Regions from separate parts of the Homo sapiens genome. Here all the other regions are linked to region 2. Evidence: promoter capture Hi-C in 16 types of primary human blood cells and fetal thymus (Javierre and others, 2016). All regions are on one chromosome and are shown on one strand. Each heading gives the region's core, a stretch centred on a gene start or on the middle of the fragment in contact. The rest is flanking DNA. Distances are from core to core; before and after follow the strand shown.

Region 1 (2,700 bases), core at 161-2,660, 130 kb after region 2:
TTCTAAATTAACTGAGACTTGTCTCAGATTTTCCGGGTTTACAGTAGCTTATCACAGTCTAGTAGAAGAGACATTCTGACACATGAACTAATAAGTAAAACACTAGGTTATACGCAGAACACAAGTACTTACAAGATATAGAGATAATGATTAAGAGGTAATTATTAATTCAGTCTTTTTTTTTTTTTTTGAGACAGAGTCTCGCTCTGTCACCCAGGCTGGAGTGCAGTGGCACATTCTAGGCTCACTGCAACCTCTGCCTCCCAGGTTCAAGCAATTCTCATGCCTCAGCCTCCCAAGCAGCTGGCATTACAGGCACGCGCCACCATGACACCTGGCTAATTTTTTGTATTTTTAGTAGAGACAGGGTTTTACCATATTGGCCAGGCTGATCTTGAACCCCTGACCTCAAGTGATCCACCCCCTCAGCCTCCAAAAGTGCTGGGATTAGAGGCGTGAGCCACCACGGCTGGCCTAACTTAGTTTTTAAAGTGTAGAAATCAGGCATTTCAGGTATAAAGGTATGAAAGTATATGGTCTGTAAAAGAACTGCAAAGAACTGAATCTGCCTAATAGATTAGGTAATAAATAACCTTACGTAATAACTTGTGTTTGTACATGAGAGGTGAGATGGTAGTTGTGATTGAAATTGGAGAGGTTAGGAGGAACCAGAACGTTAAGGTAACTATGTATCACTCTGAGCAGTCTGAAACTTAAGTGATAGGAAGCCACCAAAGGATTTTGAAAAGGCAGTTACTTGTTCAGATTTGTAATTGAAATAGATTATCGTGACGGTTCAGAGGGAACAGATTTGAGGAAAAAAGAACCCTAAAAATGCTTTCTTAGCAAAAGCAATTGGAGAATTGTTAGTAAGATGTCTGAAGTACCCACTCTGGATGAGAGCCACAGCAGCCCACCAGGCAGAGGGTTATGTTTTGGGTTGCACAGTTTGTATGATCAAAGGAATACTACCTCACACTGGCCTAAGGTTCCTCAATCCCCTGCTCAGTAGTGATGAAGAATTCAACTACACTGTTTCAGAAGTCCTAAATACTGAAAGCTTTTCCTTTTTAGGTAAAATAATATCAAACTAAATACAACTTTTCTTCAAAAGCACCATTGAGTATCTCTTTTTAATTTTTTATTTTTACACAAGCTGGAGTATGGTGGTGCAATCATGGCTCACTGCAGCCTCAACCTCTTGGGATCAAGCAATTCTCCCACCTCAGCCTCCTGAGTAGCTGGACTACAGGTGTGTGCCACCATGCCCAGCTAATTTTTAAATTTTTTGTAGTGAAGGGGTTTCACTATGTTGCCCAAGCTAGTCTCAAACCCCTGGCCTCAAGCAATCCTCCCACCTTGGCCTCCAAAGTGGTATGAACCACTGCGCCTGGCCCACTGAGTACCTCAGTTGTTCAAATTCTTAATTCAGCTGAGGGATGGAGAAGCTCTGGTCTATTGATGAGATCAAATCTTGACCTGATTTTATTCCAACAGTATATGTAGCAATTATGTATGTATATATTAGTAAAAACATATGACTTCAAAAATCTTTTAAAAACCATAAAATAGACCAAGGGTCAGCAAACAACTGACCATAACCAGCTGTCTGTTTTTGTAAATAAGTTTTATTGGAACATAATTACACACATTTGCTTACATGCTGTCTGTGGCTGCTTACATGCTGTCTATGGCTGCTTCCATGCTACAACAGCAGAGTTGGGTAGCAGCATCGGAAATTGTATGGCCTGCAAAGCTTAAAATATTTACTGGCCTGCTGTGGTCTGAATATTTGTGTCCCACAAAAATTCATTTGTTGACACTCAACTCCCAATGCAATAGTATTAAGAGATGGAGGCTTTAGGAGGTGATTATGTCATGAAGGCTTTGCTCTTGTGAATGGGATTAGTGTCCTTATAAAAAGAGGCTTGGGGGCCGGGCGTGATGGCTCATGCCCATAATCTCAGCACTTTGGGAGGCTGAGGTGGGCGGATCACGAGGTCAGGAATTCGAGACTAGCCTGACCAACACGGTGAAACCCCATCTCTATTAAAAATACAAAAATTAGCCAGGTGTGGTGGCGCATGCCCGTAATCCCAGCTACTCAGGAGGTGGAGGCAGGATAATTGCTTGAACCCGGGAGGCGGAGATTGCAGTGAGCCGAGATCGTGCCACTGCACTCCAGTCTGGGCGACAGAGCAAGACTCTGTCTCAAAAAAAAAAAAAAAAAAAGAGGCTTGGGGTTGGGCGTGGTGGCTCATGCCTGTAATTGCAGCACTTTGGGAGGCTGAGGCGGGCAGATTGCGTGAGCCCAGGGGTTCGAGACCTGGGCAACATGGTAAAACCCTGTATCTATTAAAAAAAAAAAAACACAAAAACTAGCCAGGTGTGGTGACATGTGCTTGTAGTCCCAGCTACCTGGGAGGGTGAGGTGAGAGGATCGCCTGAGCTCAAGAGGGCAAGGCTGCAGGGAGCCATGATTGCACCACTGGCCACAACCACACCACTGCACTCCAGCCTTTGTGACAGAGTGAGACCCTGTCTCAAAAAACTAAATAAAAAGAGGCTTGAAGGAGCCTGTTTGCCACTTTTGCCATGTGAGGATGCAGCAAGAAGGCATTATCTTGGAAGCAAAGAGTAAGCCCTCCCCCGACACTGAATCTGTTAGTGCCTTGATGTTGAACTTCCCAGCCTCCAGAA
Region 2 (2,700 bases), core at 93-2,592:
GGAGGCCGTGAAGCAGATGAAGATGATGAGGGTCAGGGCCTGCAGGACCGAGCATGTGGAACATGCCAAGAAGGGGACACAGGCAGGGGCCAGGGCTTTGCCTTCCCCTCCTTGGAAGCTCCCCTAGGCTGGCACCTACTACCTGTCCTTGGAGGGGAGGAAGGACTCTGGCACATCTCCCTATCCCCTGGTGTCAGGAGCCACCGTTGCAGGGCATTTGCCGGTCAAGGGCAGTCTCCGGCCTCCCACTCTGCTCACCCAGCAACCCCAGCAGTCTGGCCAAGCCATATGGCTCCCAGGAGCACTATCCCACAGTAATTCATAGGTACAGTGTGAATGCCAGCCCCTGGAGTTGTGCCCACAGAGACCCGACTCCACAGGGACCAAGAGGAGCCCCCTGCCTCATAATGCTTTCCCCACCCCCAGATGCCTGAAAGCCCCCTGACAAGGACCAGAGCCTTTGATTCCATGCCAAGAGAGAAGGCAGATGCTGCCCAGTGGTTTCTGGGAGCCCCTTTAGCTCTGATGACCTAGGGTGGCATACGTGCAGAGGCCTTAACTCTACACTGTGGTCTTGCTAAGTAACCAGGGGAAGATCCTTTCCTGAGAAGAGATGTTTCTGGGCAGCAGACCACAGATAAAGTGCAGTTGCAGGAAGTCTGCCCTTTTTGATAGTTAGACTTCTTGGACGTGCTGAGAAGTGGCCATGTTAGAGGCTGTCATTGCCCCTGTCCCATCCCTATGTCTCAAGCTTCCTCAATGTCCCAAAAAGTCACCCTGTCTAACTGCAGTCCTTCCTGCTGCAACTGAAACCTGCTGTAAATGTCTCCGGGTGGAGAGGCAGCAAGAAGGCAGAGTAGGAGACGAAGAAGGGGCAGCTGCGGGCAGGAGAGGTGTCCAGAGGGCTTGGGGAAGGAGGCTACTGAAGGGTGAGCTGGGGGCTGGCATAAGGCTGGCCAGGAGCCGGGGGTCAGGGAGATGGAGGCACCAGGTTGGGAGGCAGCTGTTACCAGCTCGGTTTCCAGCAGGATGCCCTTGTGGGAGGTGAGGAAGGCCTTGTCCACCGCGAAGCCCTGGAGCTCTGCAACTACCCCCTCCTCAGGGTGCCGGTCCCGGCGATCTCGAGCACTGAGCATCTTCGTAGGGCCCACCAACACAGCCCCCTACTGCCAAAAGCCCAGCAAGAGAAACAGAAATCTGGCAGGATGGGGAAACAGACAGGAGCAAGAAGGCACTTCGAGAAACCTGAAAGTGAAGCAGGAGGCTTGCCCACAGGGCCCCGGGAGAGAAGGCAGGCGCTGGGGGCCTTGCCCAGATGGGCCCTCACCCAGCTGCCCAGAGTGCCTCTGCTGCTGCCTGCACCAGCCCCCTAGAGACCCATGGGGAGGGGCAGAGAGGAAGGAGGCTCTAATCCCTCCCCTTGCTTAGAGCCCAACCCAGCCTGGAATAGAGAAGGAAGGGGAGAGGAGGAGGTCCGAAAAGAAACTGGGAGGAGCTGGGATGTGAGTAGAGGAACAGGGGCAGGACTGGGAGCCCCCAGGGACCTAAGCCTGAAGACATTTGTGTCCCCCTTCTCTAACCTTAACCCTCTTGTTTGGCCGGTCCTTTCTCCCATTTCCTTTTAGGGAGGGTGTGAGCTGGAGCCCAGCCCAGGCAGCACCCCCAGGACCAAGCTGCAGCAGCCAGGACTGGAGGACAAAGGCGGATTGTTGGGGGACAAGGGGGCGCTCTGTGCCTGCTGCAATGCCTCAATGGGCCTCTGTCTCTCCAGCATGCCGGGAGCGCGGCCTAGCCCCCACCCTGGTGTTTGGGATGGGCCAGGGAGACAGAGATGGGAGAGGACGGGAGGGTGCAGCGGAAACTCTGGAGGGCGGAGAGAGCTGGCAGGGTGGACAGAGGTGAGGGCCAATGGTGGAAAGGAGAAGGGACAGGCTGGGAGACCGCGAGATGTTCAGGCACCACGGATGCCAAATACAGATTAGGCCATTTTTAAATAAAGATATTTATTTGGATAAATCTCTATACATTCAATAACAGCTTCCTCCTCAGAATCATCCATGTCAAAAGACTAGTAACTACACTAGAATGCACCCAAAGTAGATGCTCACTGAGTGATGAGTAAACAAACAAATAAAACCAGGGGCTCTTTCTTCTCCAGCAAGGGGGAAATATCTAGAAAGTGCCTGTGCTGGGCCAGGGTAGCAGGGGATGGGAAAAGAGGAAGAGACAGGAGTGGTGGCCTCCAGAAATGGGCAGAACTTTGAAAACCTTTCCTGAGAGAAAATGACAGGACACCAGCTTCCGGCGGCCCTAAGCAGCAGCTGCTCTTTTCAAAATGTGCAGAAGTGCAGGCTTTCCCCAAAGCCCCCCATCCTGTCCCGGGATCCTGCTGCTCCAGACAGCACTTCACAGGGGCCAAGCATCTGGGCATCCTGGCCCTTCATGGCAAGTGGTTGTACACCTGGCTCCAGGTTTCCCAAAAAGGGACCAGCCTCCAGCAGGTCCGGCTAGCCCATCACACGGGGCCGCACACACACACAAGCTAAGGAAACACGGTACAGCCTGCGCTCCAGGCAGTAGCCCTTGTGGGTGCCCTTCTCGCCATGGCATGGCCGCCGGTAGAAGACAGTCTGGTTGTGGTAGAGCAGCTCCGAGTTGCCCCGGGGGTCCATGTGGGAGCCTGTCTGTAGGCTGACGCAG
Region 3 (2,700 bases), core at 76-2,575, 74 kb before region 2:
CCTTCTGTCTTCATAGATTTTCCTTTTCTGGACATTTCATAGAAATGGAATCATAAAATATGTGGCCTTTTCATCTGGATTCTTTCATTTAGCATGTTTTTGAGGTTAATCCATGTTACATTAATAACATGTATCAGTACTCATTCCTTTTTATTGCTGAATAATATTCCATTGTATGGATGTACCACATTTTGTTTATCTGTTCACCTAATGATAAACATTGGGATTATTTCCACTTTTTGGATATTATGAATAATATCCAAGCGTTTATGAACAAACGCTTGTTTGAACTTGTTTATATAAGTCTTTGTGTGGATATATACTTTCTTTTCTATTGAGTAAATACCCAAAAGTGGATGGCTGAGTTATTTGGTACATGTATGTCAGTTAAGCTTTTAAGAAAAGTTCAAACTGTTTTCCAAAGTAGCTGTTGCATTTTACGTTCTCACCAGCAATGTTGGAGAGTTTTGGTTTCTCCACATCCTAGCCACAATTTATTATTGCCTTTCTTTTTTATTATAGTCACACTCATGGGTATGAAGTGCTATCTCATTGAGGTTTTAATTAGAATTTCTATAATGATTGATGATGTTGAGCATATTTTGTGTGCTTGTTATACATTTGCATATCTTTGTTGAAATATCTATAAATCTTTTCTTTCTTTAACCTTGCTAATTAGCTGACTTTAAGTCTATAAATCTTTTGACTATTTTAAAATTTTCTTGTATTATTATTGAGTTGTACTTGTTCTTTATCTATTCTTAACACAAGTCCTTTATTAGAAATATGATTTGCAAGTATTTTCTTCCAGTCTGTGGCTTAGATTTTAATTTTCTTTTTAAAATTTTAATCTTCTTAATGACATCTTTTGAAGCACAAAATCTTTCAACTTTGATGAAGTCCAACTTACAATTTTGTCTTTTGTGGATTATGCTTTTGGTATTGTATGTAAGAACTTGTTTCCTAACCAAAGACTTTTCCTACGTTTTCTTCCAAAAATTGTAAGTTTTAGATCTTACATGTAAGTCTCTGAACTGTTTTAAGTTATTTTTGTGTATAGTGTGGGGTGTGGTCTAAATGTATCTTTTTGCATGTGTGTATCCAGCACCATTTCCTCAAAGAATTGTTTTGGAATCTTTGTTGAAAATAAATTGATCTCCCTTCATTTTAAATTTTAACTAAATGAAAAATTCAGTGTCTCAGTTGCACTAGACACATTTCAAGTACCCAACAGCCATGTTTGGCTAGTGACTACCACACTCAGTAGTGTAGCCCTAGGGGACACAAAGATGAAAATATTACAGTTCTCAACCCCAAGGACCTCATATTCTGGTGCCATCAACTTAAGGAAACTGAAGCGGTGTAAGAATAAGCAATATGCTAACAATGAAAAGCAACAGCAGGAAAAAAAGCCACAATGATTGTAAATTAATGCTTTCAAAGAGTGGCTATATGTAAACATATTCATAATTTTTGACTAAGGAATTCGTCTCCTAGAATTTGTTCTATTGAAATCATTCAAAATAAAAAGAAGCCATGTGTACTTATGTTTAGAGATACTTTATTTATAAGTTCAAAAAAACTACAAACAGGGAGTCAGTGGGAAAGAGGAGTAACTGCTAATAGGTATGGTATTTCTTTTGGGGGTGATGAAAATGTTCTAAAATTTGATAGTGGTGATGCTTGCACAACTCTGAATATACTAAAAACTACTGAATCGTATATTGTAAAATGGTAAATGTTATGGCACATGAATTATATCTCAATAACAATGTTATTTAAAACTATAAACAATCTAAATATCAAACAAGTAAATGTTAATATTTTTACTCAGAAATAGCAAATGAATAGCTCCGTAGCTCCATTTATTGGGCATTTACTACATGCCAGGCACTATTCTGAGCACTTTACATGCATTAATTCAGTGGTTCTCAATGTGTGGTCCTCAATCCAGTAGCATCTGGTATGCAAATTCAGGCATCCCAGGCTGGAGTGCAGTGATGCAATCTCGGCTTACTGCAGTCTCCACCTCCCAGGCCCAAGTGATTCTCCTGCTTCAGGCTCCCAGGTAGCTGGGATTATAGGCATGCACCACCACACCAGCTAATTGTTTTGTATTTTTCATACAGATGGGGTTTCATCATGTTGATCAGGCTGGTCTCAAACTCCTGACCTCAAATGATCTGCCTCCCAAAGTCCTGGGATTACAAGCATGAGCCACTGCACCCAGCCAAGAAAATGTGTCCTAACAAAGCTTCTGTGTGATTCTGCAGCATGAACAAGTTTGAGAATCTCTGTATGTATTATGCCATTCTTGCATTGCTATGAAGAAGTACCTGAGACTGGGTAATTTACGAAGAAAAGAGGTTTAATTGCCTCACAGTTCTGCAGGCTTTACAGTATCTGCTCAGCTTCAGGGAAGGCCTCAAGGAACTTTTACTCATGGCAGAAGGCAAAGCAGGAGAAGGCATGTCATATGGCAAGAGCGGGAGCAAGACAGGGAGAGGGTGCCACACGCTTTTAAACAATCAGATCTTGAGAGAACACACACACTATGGTGAGGACAGCACCAAGGGGATGGAGCTAAACCATTCATGAGAAATCTACGCCCAGGACCTAAACACCTCCCACCAGTCCCCACCTCCAACACTGAGGATTACATTTCAACATGAGATTTGGGGGGACACATATTTAAACTAT

What was found. The method cuts DNA at HindIII sites, captures the fragments that hold promoters and counts their contacts. A CHiCAGO score of 5 or more calls a contact.
Region 1: a fragment that was not itself captured here is called in contact with the fragment with the promoter of CMTM5 in region 2 in 1 of 17 cell types (activated CD4 T cells); the score reaches 5.7 in activated CD4 T cells.
Region 3: a contact is called between a fragment that was not itself captured here and the fragment with the promoter of CMTM5 in region 2, in 1 of 17 cell types (megakaryocytes). The highest score is 5.5, in megakaryocytes.

Annotation. Positions count from the first base shown.
Region 1 is chr14:23,247,973-23,250,672 of GRCh38, reverse strand. The region is part of intron 4 of RNF212B (ring finger protein 212B); the gene reads right to left. Among named protein-coding and RNA genes, the nearest start is that of RNF212B, 11 kb to the right of the region's middle. The HindIII fragment of the contact is 696 bases long and covers 1,063-1,758 here.
Region 2 is chr14:23,375,688-23,378,387 of GRCh38, reverse strand. It overlaps CMTM5 (CKLF like MARVEL transmembrane domain containing 5), which reads right to left and starts at 1,342. Exons shown (of 6, transcript NM_001288746.2): 1 at 1,011-1,342; 2 at 1-39. The coding sequence starts at 1,136. It overlaps IL25 (interleukin 25), which reads right to left. Exons shown (of 3, transcript NM_172314.2): 3 at 1,985-2,700. The coding sequence ends at 2,508. The HindIII fragment of the contact is 2,824 bases long and covers 754-2,700 here.
Region 3 is chr14:23,449,891-23,452,590 of GRCh38, reverse strand. No RefSeq gene overlaps it. Among named protein-coding and RNA genes, the nearest start is that of MYH7, 16 kb to the right of the region's middle. The HindIII fragment of the contact is 1,862 bases long and covers 395-2,256 here.